4 separate regions of the Homo sapiens genome follow, and all the other regions are linked to region 1. Evidence: promoter capture Hi-C in 16 types of primary human blood cells and fetal thymus (Javierre and others, 2016). All regions are on one chromosome and are shown on one strand. The core of a region is centred on a gene start or on the middle of the fragment in contact, and the rest is flanking DNA. Distances in the headings are between cores, read along the strand shown. Region 1 holds the start of APCS (amyloid P component, serum). Region 2 has its middle 28 kb from the start of DUSP23. Region 3 has its middle 11 kb from the start of DUSP23. Region 4 has its middle 61 kb from the start of OR10J1.

Region 1 (2,700 bases), core at 53-2,552:
ATTACAATTCCACACATATTTTGAATCGTCATTAAAATGATTGTTAGTAGCTTTTAAGTATTGCCACTGTTGTGCTCATTGAGTGCTCTGGCTTTGTGATATATCTTTCTAGTTACTTACAGGTTTTCCTCCCCGTACTTGGCAATTGGAGTTTTCAGGATAATGAAACACCAATTACCAATGAAACACCAATTAGTAGATAGATAAGTAGTAGACATAAGATAAAGATATGGGACTATGACAAGCACTAAACAAATGCAGGTAGCATAATACAATATATATTTTTTTAATTAGGCAGACATACAGATAGGAAATTCAAAGAAGAAAGAGCTGCAGATGTAAGATCTAGTATCCAGTTGCTTTGACCAGATCTCTTAGACAGTCATTTCATTTTCAAGTGCTCTCGTTGAGTCAAGACCTCAGACCCACACCAAGGGTTTGATGATGACATATCCTCTGATTTCATAGTTCAGAGCCTGCCAGTCCAGGATATTGGCAGGGAGAGGGGTACCCTGATAGGCAGACAGGATATTTTCTGGGGGCAGCACAGAGTCCCACATGTACAAATCCCCAATCTCTCCCACAAAGGACTGGCTCCTATCAAACTTGCCCCCATAGGAATCCTGTTCCTGCCCCAGGACAATCTTGGGCTGAGCTTCTACAAAGTAACCCTGTCGCAGACCCTTTTTCACCAAAGGTGTCCCATTGATCCAAAATTCAGCAATACCTGATGAGGACTCCCAGCTCACACAGATGTGCACTGGAGCCGGGAACTTTTCGATAACTTTGGATGTAACTTTGTGTCTTCCAATGTATAGACTATACTCTCCAACTCTTTCTTTATAAACTAGTAGCTCATTATCCCTGCCTTGGGTATTGTAGGAGAAGAGGCTGTAGGCACGAGAGAGATCACTATAGGCTCGAAAACACAAGGTAAAGTTCTGTAGAGGCTTCTCCAGCGGTGTGATCAAGTTTACATGATCAGTAACAGATTCTCTAGGAAATACAAACACCTTCCCACTGAGGTCTGCGGGATAAAGAAAGAAAGATAATGACCTTCAGTATAAATGCAGGGAAAAGATATCTCAGCTTCAACCTATTTTCTCACTTTATGATTCTTGACCATTCCTTCACCTCCTTACCTGTGTGAGCAAAGGCTTCCAGGAGGCTGGTGAGGACAGAGATCCAAAGCAGCGGCTTGTTCATATTCCTGGCCTAGGGCTGTTATAGCAGAAGCAGTGACCAGGATGAGGGTAGCAGACAACACAGTGGCTGTCCCCCTAGCGTCTGATATTCATGCCCTTAGACTTCAGGTTATTCAGGGTTTATATGCACCTTGGGTGAGGATGGGGGAGGAAGAGCACCAATAATATGTGAGTGATTTTCCAGGTCTGCCTCCTGGCGCTTACGGTGAAGGAGTGGTGAGCCCTGAGCTGGAAAATCAATGGGAGTTATTTATTAGAGACAAGTGATGGCTAGAGCTCCAACTCCTGTGACCCAGATTTTATTGCTGGGAAGAGAGTCATTGCAGGGCAGCAGGGTTATGGATGGGATGAGGCGCTGGGCTGGCCATGTCAGCAGAGCCTCTCTCTGCTCTCTGGGCCCCCTCTCTGATGGCTCTGTGCTCTGCCAGAAGCTCCTGAGCCACACAGAGTGTATCGCTGAGCTCAGCCCTCTTGTGGGCTATGGGAACAAGGCCTTTTCTTTCTTTTATAGTTCTCAAGTTGTCTTGTATTTGTAGGATATTCTAGGATTCTGCTTTCTGCTGAAGACCCTAAAAAGTGCCTTCAACTTTGACTAATTCAACATCAAGTAATACATCCAGGCAAAGCTAAGGGGAAAGAGGGACTTGGAGAATAAACTTTCTGTCCCCATGAAGCTTAGTATTTTTCTGCTACTTCTACTCAGTGCTTTTTTTTCGTTTGCATATCATGGTGCTTCCTTATCCTAGATCTTTCCATTTCTCATTACGACTTGTTTTCTGGTTACTTCATGCTACCTGCAGAGATGTCAGCATCTCCCCAAGTTTTTCTCTCCTCTTCTTTGAGTCCTTGGTCATTGAGTGTATATCTAATCCATCTTTGGTGATGACCCCACTAATACATTTATTCACTAGCTCTCAGTTACTACACTAGGTGCTGGGGATTCAGTGGTCACTGGCTCTCTCACAGCCCCAGAGATCTCCACCTTCATTCTTTCTATGTCTCCTTCATTCTCTCTCTGTACAGTTTATTAACCACCACTCAAACCTTCTCTGCCTCTGAGATATCAAACTGAAGTTCTTCTTTCTAGCCACATTATTTCTTTCTCTCTCATCCCTGAATTATATGGTGTCTTGTTTCTCATCCTACTGTTTAGCCTCTTGTTCACTCTCTCTTCTGTTAGCTCACCACAGACCTAATCAGCCTTTTCAATGACACAATCACTGCCACCAAGAATACACTTTCTCTATCATTGTTCAAAGTATCCTTCCTATTCTCATCCCTGGGGAGTTTCCATTCTCTACTTTTTTTCTCTAAATGGAATCCCAGGTTGTGAAGCCTTATCTGGCTTGTTGCACAGTATAGGTTAGTGATAAAGTTGGGATTATGCATCTATTGACTCCTGAATTAAATACAGACCATTTGCTTGGAAGCCAATGCCATTTGCAATCTGGCTCTAACCTGGCTATTATCTCAGAATCTAATCCTATTCTCCAGT
Region 2 (2,700 bases), core at 123-2,622, 170 kb before region 1:
CTTTAAACAGAGTCTTTAGAAGTCTTGATTAATAAGTACGTTTCAACATGAAGGAAAACCAACATTTTTTTTACAACTATAATTCAAGTTGTATGCTTAAGTAATTTTTTTTTTTAAAGAGAGATGTTTTGTTTTTAACCCTTATTCCTCCAACACGCCGGCGCAGAGTTCTAGAGGCACTTTTGTATTAATTAGTTCTTTCCTTCAAATTCAAATACCTTTACAATAGCTAAGGATATTTATCATTTAAATTCAGAGTTTGATACACTTGCTTCCTCTTAGCATCTGTGATATGCTGTCCAAATTGAAAAAAAAAAGCATTATTTTTTTCTTTGTTTCACTTGGAAGGCTTTAGGAAATGGGAAAGTCTGAGCACTGTGCCTCCCAGGAAGGATTTGGATCACCGTTGGGCAGTATGAATTTTTTTGGGTTTGGGAACCAGAAGGGAAAGGGTGCCAGGAGGTGGAAAAATGGTACTGACAGGGATGTGGCTGTTCTTGGCCAGTGAGCCCTGAAATCCTGATGTGACATAGGTGGCTAATTACTGCACTGTGTAGAGGTATCATGATGCGTCTTTCAGCATGATTCCAGACACAGCGCCTCTCTCATTTGACTCCACTCTTTTAACATGGATCCCCGGCTTCTACCTGCACAACCTCGCATGGTCACATCTCCCACAGAAATGAAGGAAGAGCCTTCTTCCCTGAAACAGCAGGGACTTTCGTGAAGTTCATCATGATGGTGCTTTTTAATTGGCTGTCTTGGCCTTTTATTTGTTTTCTGACCCTTGGACTTGCATTGCTCCCTGGTGCCTGTGGGTTTCCTGGTTTCTAACTGCTGGCTTGATTTTTAACCTACACACTTAACCTGGACTCCTGATATGCATGTGATTTCTGACTTCTCATTTGGCTCGGAGCCTTTTTGACTTTTCCCGTTCCCAGTCCTGCCTGTAATTCTTAGACTTGTTGTATTTTTCTACCTGGCTTCCCACCTTGGCTCTGGGACTCTTTGTCAACACCAGTCTTGATCCAATAGAGAGACTCGATCTCATTGGGCAACCAGGTAAACAAGAGGACTGGTGAAGGGGTTGAGAAAGTCACATCTTCATCTAGCATTTGGCACAATTCTCATGGCCTTTCTGATCATGGAGTTGACTTTATGTAATAAGAGTTCGAAGAAGTCTTGAACAGAAAAAAATTTTGTAAACAAGAGGCAGTAATTGTTATTCTTTCCAGTTGTTGAGTTAGCTACACCTCTGTAAATTGTAACATAGAGTTTCAAATTTATATTGAATTCCTGCGGTGTCCTGAAATTGGGGTCGGTCTACCTTTCCGAAGAAGACCAGACACATTTCTGTGACACAGGATCTTTTATATAGGATTCATGGGTAATAATTTCTGCTGCTCCTTCTTTATTCCAAAAGTGAACAAAAGTCAGTTTTTCACACAGGTAAAGTTACTAAAATTGTGGTAGGTAAAGTTACTAAAGCTGTAGTAACTTTACCTGTGTGAAATCCTAACTTACTTCAATAGGATATTATTAAAGGAAGGAGAATTTCCACATTCAAGATAACTAATCCAAATCAAGATCTTCATTTGGGAAAACCAGACTCAATAATATCAGATCCTGGCATAGCTCTGGCATGTTGTCTTGCAGGTATGTTGAGAGTATACAACTATGGGTAACCTCTTGGGCAAAGGAGCTCAAGATTAATTTCTTGTCATTTTCCACAAATGTATCAATGCATCTACAAAGTAAAATGGGATGGATTCTCAAATGTCAGTTCTTTCGAACCATTGATCTTAAGAATTCAGGTTGAGTTTATGTCTAGAATTTTAACTGATCATGACAGATAAATCTATGAGTCATTGTCATCTCTTAGAAGCTCATGATGATTTTAAGGGCGTGTTGTAACCACTTCTTTAACCAAAATCAGGCAATTTCAGGTGTGGCCCATAAGTAGTTAATTCCACAATGTTGCATTTTTTATGCTCCACTTGCAGCTGATTTGTGAGCTGTAGAGTTTGGCGGGGTTGGGAGTGTTGACCTCAGGAAGGATTTGCGACAGTGCTTGGCAATCACGTGACACACCAGCTATTCCTTCCCATCATTAACTTGGCATTGACTGGACAAGCAACAGGGCACCATTCCAGGTGTGTGTTGAAATTCTCTGGTGTCCTTTGAAATCCTAAGCAACAATTTCCTCCCATTGTGCAACTCAAGAACTCTGATAAACAGTATGTTTGGCATTCTGTTCCTGGAAACGTCTCTTACAGAGGCCACCTATGGGTGTTCTAGAGTTGACTGAGGGACATCAGTGTTGGATGATGCCACAGAGGCTACCAGCTAAGTCTGTGTGGCAATAAAACACATCCTGTATAAGCAGAGACAGAGATGAGCAGGGGAAAATCCAAGCAAGATGTAGGAACAAATTAAAGGATGTATCACTCAGGCAACCAAGGTCATGGAGAGCAGAATAGAGCACCAAGAAAAGAGTTCCTGATAAACCAATGCACTAATTGGAAGTGTTTGTGGTGATGTGAAGAAGGCCTCTGGAGGCCTCCAGGGTGAGTTAAGGCAAGCAATCAACATGTCAAGGTAATTTGTTAGCAGTACTGGCTTTGGGTTAAGGTGTATAAACCTGCCTGTTGTGATGTATGAAGCCTGCTAACCGGAGGAAACTTGGCCATAGAAGGACAG
Region 3 (2,700 bases), core at 152-2,651, 180 kb before region 1:
AGTTATTTAGGATGAGAAAATTTGCAAATTCACATGGAATTTATTTCTGGAATAGCTATGACCATAACAGAGACAAGGTTGATGAGTCAGTCATTTATTTGAAAATTATGATACCCTAAATCCCTTTGGTCAGAAAACATATTTGATTCACAAGAATATGGAAAAATGGTGAGAAAATGTTTTTTAATGGTTAGCTTTGCTCTATAGTCTTTTGGCTTTCCAAAACTATAATAGTTTCAGCCTTTCTGGTCCTTGTGTTTCTAAAACTTTCTACCTCTTTAATTCAATTAAACAAACATGCCAATTAAGTCCAAGTGAACAAAATATTGGGCTATATACTTGACTAAAGATGCAGATAAAAGCATGAAACTTACATTTTGGTTTTGGAGCAGATTGTTATAGCAATGACCTGAATGGATTACACCTCCTAGTATCCACACCCTTATACATGCCTCTCCTACATTTGTACTGGACTCAGCCTTGTACTTGCTTTGGCTAACGTGATATAAACAAATGTGGGCCAGACGCGGTGGCTCATGCCTGTAATTTCAGCACTTTGGGAGGCCAAGGCAGGTGGATCACTTGAGATCAGGAGTTTGAGACTAGCCTGACCAACATGGTGAAACCCCATCTCTACTAAAAATACAAAATTAGCCGGGCGTGATGGCACATGCCTGTAATCCCAGCTACTTGGGAGGCTGAGGCAGGAGAATTGCTTGAAACCGGGAGGCAGAGGTTGCAGTGAGCCAAGACTGTACCACTGCTCTCCAGCCTGGGCAACAAGAGTGAAACTCCATCTCAAAAAATAAAATAAAATAAAATAAAATAAAATAAAATAAAATAAAATAAAATAAAATGAAATAAAATAAAACAAATGTGATAGAAGCAGAGGTATGATAAGCACTTGCATGTTGGGTCTTGTCATCTTGGAACCCTAAGACCTTTATGCTATAAAGAAGCCCTGAATTATATACCGTATGGTAGGAGAGGCCAGTTGAGCCCAGTCCCCAAGCTGGATGCAGCTGCATGAATGATCCTAGGTATGACCAGTAGAAGAGTGACCCAGCTAACTCACAGAATCATGAGAAATAGAAATTGCTGTTAAGCCACTAAATTTTGGGGTCATTTACTTCATAGGAATGGAAAACTGATCTATATCTATATCTATATCTATCTCTCTCTATATATGTGTGTGTGTATATATATATATATATATGGTCATTTACTTCATAGGAATGGAAAACTGATTTTATATATATATATATATATATATATATATATATATATATATATATATATATATATATTTTTTTTTTTTTTTTTTTTTTTTGAGATGGAGTCTTGCTGTGGCCCAGGCTGAGATAGTGGCGCGATCCCAGCTCACTGCAACCTCCACTCTCCAGATTCAAGTGATTATCCGATTATCCTGCCTCAGCCTCCTGAGTAGCTGGGATTACAGGCGTCTGCCACCATGACTGGCTAATTTTTGTATTTTTATTAGAGACAGGGTTTTGTCATGTTGGCCAGGCTGGTCTCGAACTCCTGATCTCAGGTGATCCGCCTGCCTCGGCCTCCCAAAGTTCTGGGATTACAGTCGTGAGCCAACGTGCCCGGCCAGATATAAAAATTTATACCCAGAAATGGTATGTTGCTGTAACAAAAAGCTAAACTATGTGGCATTGGCTTTGGGGTTGAGTGGCTGGAAGAGGCAGTAGGTGCAGCGAGTAGATTATTAGTGGAGCCTGAGGACCTGAGAGGAAACTGCTACTGGAGGCTGATAAAGGGCAAATCACATTATATAGTAGTAGAATAACTGGCAACACTGTCATCTTCAGAAACTTGGAAGATAAAAAATGTACTTAATTAACTTGTAGATTTGGCTTAAGGAAGTTTCCATTTAGAATGCTGAAGGGGCCAATTAGCTTTTTAAAGGTGATAGATAATAGGGTATAGGAAGAGAGAGATGAACCAAAAAAAAAAAAAAATGAATTGCTCCATTTGCAAGCAGAATTTAAAGCAAATATGGAGTGCCCAGGATACGCTAGGTGAGAAATAAAACTGTCTCACATTTCCAGTCTCTCCTACTGCCAAAAGATTCTCAAAGTTAGAAATGTTCTCAGGGTACAAATTAAATCAAGGGTGTGGCTACAAGACTTTCTTAAGACCACAGAATGATTTAAAATAGTGACTATTAGATTCTCTCAGCTAGGCAAAGTGGCTTTTAAGAATTTTAAGGGCATTTTTTCCACGGCACATTGACATACTGAACCAAAGTAGAGGCCTATCTCAAAAATAGTTGTGGGTATAGCTTTTGTCTAGTCAAGTGGACTATCACCTGGCATATAGAAAGCCCACATAGAAAGGTATTGGATTAGTTTAGACTAACTAATGTACAGGAAGTTCAAAATAAATAGAAACAGGAGGTAAGATGAGAAAATCACTCAGCTGCACACACAGGCTATTTTTATTGAAAACATGGGTCATCTTGGAGAAAGCAGAGGCAACCACTTCCAGAGAGTAGAAGTAGGTAAACCAGGCTGTATTCAAGAACCGTTTTCTATACCTAGAGTAGAAGGTCCTGCAATATACTTATGTGAAGGGGTGGGTTGCCCCTCCACACCTGTGGGTGTTTCTCGTAAGGTGGAATGAGAGACTTGGAAAAGAAAAAGACACAGAGACAAAGTATAGAGAAAGAAATAA
Region 4 (2,700 bases), core at 87-2,586, 210 kb after region 1:
TTAAACTTTTTCATTATTATTATATCTGCTATGGTGATCTTTGATAAGTGATCTTTGATGTTACTATTATAATTGTTTTGTTTGAACCTATATAAGACAGCAAACTTAATTGATAAATGTTGTGTGTGTTCTGACTGCTCCACTGACTGGCCATTTTCCCATCTTTCTGCTTCTCCTCAGGCTTCCCTATTCACTAAGACATAACAATATTGAAAATTGATGAATTAGTAACCCTACAGTCAACTTTACGTGTTTAAGTGAAAGAGTTGAGTGTGTTTCACTTTAAATCAAAATCTAGAAATAATTAAGCTTAGTGAGGAAGCCTGGTCAAAAGCTGAGATAGGCCAAAATCTAGGCCTCTTGTGCCAAATGGTTAGCCAAGATGTGCATGCAAAGAAAAAAATTCTTGAGGGAAATTAAATTTGCTACATCAGTTAACACACAAATAAGAAAGTGAAAATGCCTTATTACCGATATGAAGAAACTTTTAGAAGTCAGTATAGGAGAGCAAACCAGTCACAACATTCCTTTAAGCTACAGCCTAATTAAGAGCAAGACCCTAAGTCTGTTTAATTCTATGAAGGCTAAGAGAGGTGAAGAGACTGCAGAAGAAGATATTAAGCTAGCAGAATTTCGTTTATAAAATTTAAGGAAATAAATTGTCTCCATAACATAAAAGTTCACGGTAATTCAGGAGTGCTGATGCAAAAATTAGAGCAAATGATCCAGAAAATATAGCTAAGATAATTGATGAAGATGGCTACATTAAACAACATATTTTAAAAATAGCCTTCCATTGGAAGACAGTGCTGTCTAGGACTTCCATAGCTACAGAGGAGAAGCCAATGCTTGGCTTCAAAGCTTCAAGGGACAACTGACTCTCTTGCTAGGGGATGAATGCAGCTGTTGACTTTAAGTTGAAGCCAATGGTTATTTACCACTTTGAAAATTCTAACACCCTTAAGAATTATGCTAAATCTACTCTGCCTATGCTCTATAAATGGAAGAACAAAGCCTGAATTACAACACATCTGTTTAAACCATGGTTTGCTGAATATGGTAAGTCTGTCTTAAGATCTACTGCTCAGGAAAAAAAAAAAGATATCTTTCAAAATATTGACAATGCACCTAGTCACCCAAGAGTTCTGGTGTAGTCATGGTAGGAGAATAATGTTTTCATGCCTGTTAACACAATATTCATTCTTCAGCCCATCTATCAAGAAGTGATTTTGACTTTCAAGCTTTATTATTCAAAAATACATTTCATAAGGTAATAGCTGCCATAGATAATGATTCCTCTGATGGATCTGGGTGAGGCAAATTGAAAACCTTCTGAAAAGAAATTGCCATTCTATATGTCATTATGAACATTCATTATTTATGAGAAAAGGTCACAATATTAGCATTAACAGGAGTTTAGAGGAAGCTTATTTCAATTCTCATGGTGTAGATGTGGTGGAAATAGGAAGAAAACTAGAATTAGAAGTGGAGTTCGAATATATAACTGAATTGCTGCCTTCTCATAATCAAACTTTAACAAATGAGGAGTTGCTTCTTATGGATAAGCAAATAAAGTAGTTTCTTGAGATAGAATCTCCTCCTAGTGAAGAGGTTGTGAACATTATTAAAACAACAACAAATGATTTAAAATATTCCCTAAAACTTAGTTGTTAAACAAATGGCAGGGTTTGAGAGAATTAACTTCCAATTTGAAAGACATTCTATTGTAGGTCAAGTGATATCAAACAGCATTGCCTGCTACAGAGAAATCTTTTGTGAGTCAATTAAGCCTGGACGAGGTGATTCACACCTGTAATCCCAGCACTTTGGGAGGTGGAGGCAGGAAGATAGCTTATAGCCAGAAGTTCAAGACCAGCCAGGGCGATGTAATGAGACCCCATTTCTACAAATAAATAAATAAAATTGGCCAGGTGTGGTGTCTCACACCAGTAGTCCCAGTTTTTTAAGAGGCTGAGGTGGGAGGATCTCTTGAGCTCAGAACTTTAAAGCTATAGTGATCTATGATCACAGCACTGTACTCCAGCTTGGATGACAGAGCAAGACCTTGTCTCTAAAAAAAAATCAATTGATGTGGTAATCTTTATTGTTGTCTCATTTTAATAAATTGGTACAGCAAACCCAATCTTCAGCAACCACCACTCTGCTCAGTAACAGCCATCAACATTGAGGCAAAATGTTCTACTAGCACAAAGATTCGCTGAAGTTTCAGATGATTGTTAGCATTTTTTAAAACAGTAATGTATTTTAAAATTGAAGTCTATACATTGTCTTTAAGACATAATCCTATTACACACTTAATAAACTACAGTATAGTTTAACATAACTTTTATATTCATTGAGAAGCCAAAAATTTGTGTGACTCACTTTATTGTGATATTTGCTTTACTGCAGTGGTCTGAAATCAAACCCACAATATCTCTGAGATACGTGGCTACCATGGGGATTACATTTAATGCCCTAAAGTTATAACACTCTAATTTGAATCTATGTCAGCTTAATTTCAATAACATACAAATCTCTGCTCCTTTAACAGTTCCATTTTCAAATCTTTTGTCTGTTGATGTCATGAAATTTTATCTTTATACACTGTGTATCCAAAACAATAAATTAATAATCATTTAAAATGCATTAGTCTCTTAAATTATGTGGAAAACAAATTGCAAAGTTATAAACCAAAGA

The links. Contacts are between HindIII fragments. The CHiCAGO score rates a contact against its expected background, and 5 or more counts as called.
Region 2: a contact is called between a fragment that was not itself captured here and the fragment with the promoter of APCS in region 1, in 2 of 17 cell types (M2 macrophages and neutrophils). The highest score is 5.5, in M2 macrophages.
Region 3: a fragment that was not itself captured here is called in contact with the fragment with the promoter of APCS in region 1 in 1 of 17 cell types (M2 macrophages); the score reaches 6.0 in M2 macrophages.
Region 4: a contact is called between a fragment that was not itself captured here and the fragment with the promoter of APCS in region 1, in 4 of 17 cell types (naive B cells, total B cells, naive CD4 T cells and 1 more). The highest score is 6.9, in naive B cells.

Annotation. Positions count from the first base shown.
Region 1 is chr1:159,586,428-159,589,127 of GRCh38, reverse strand. It overlaps APCS (amyloid P component, serum), which reads right to left and starts at 1,302. Exons shown (of 2, transcript NM_001639.4): 1 at 1,143-1,302; 2 at 263-1,027. The coding sequence starts at 1,206. The coding sequence ends at 420. The HindIII fragment of the contact is 2,624 bases long and covers 1-1,881 here.
Region 2 is chr1:159,751,804-159,754,503 of GRCh38, reverse strand. No RefSeq gene overlaps it. Among named protein-coding and RNA genes, the nearest start is that of DUSP23, 28 kb to the left of the region's middle. The HindIII fragment of the contact is 7,347 bases long and covers 1-2,700 here.
Region 3 is chr1:159,768,658-159,771,357 of GRCh38, reverse strand. No RefSeq gene overlaps it. Among named protein-coding and RNA genes, the nearest start is that of DUSP23, 11 kb to the left of the region's middle. RefSeq lists an enhancer at 1,822-2,700. The HindIII fragment of the contact is 5,272 bases long and covers 1-2,700 here.
Region 4 is chr1:159,377,269-159,379,968 of GRCh38, reverse strand. No RefSeq gene overlaps it. Among named protein-coding and RNA genes, the nearest start is that of OR10J1, 61 kb to the left of the region's middle. The HindIII fragment of the contact is 185 bases long and covers 1,244-1,428 here.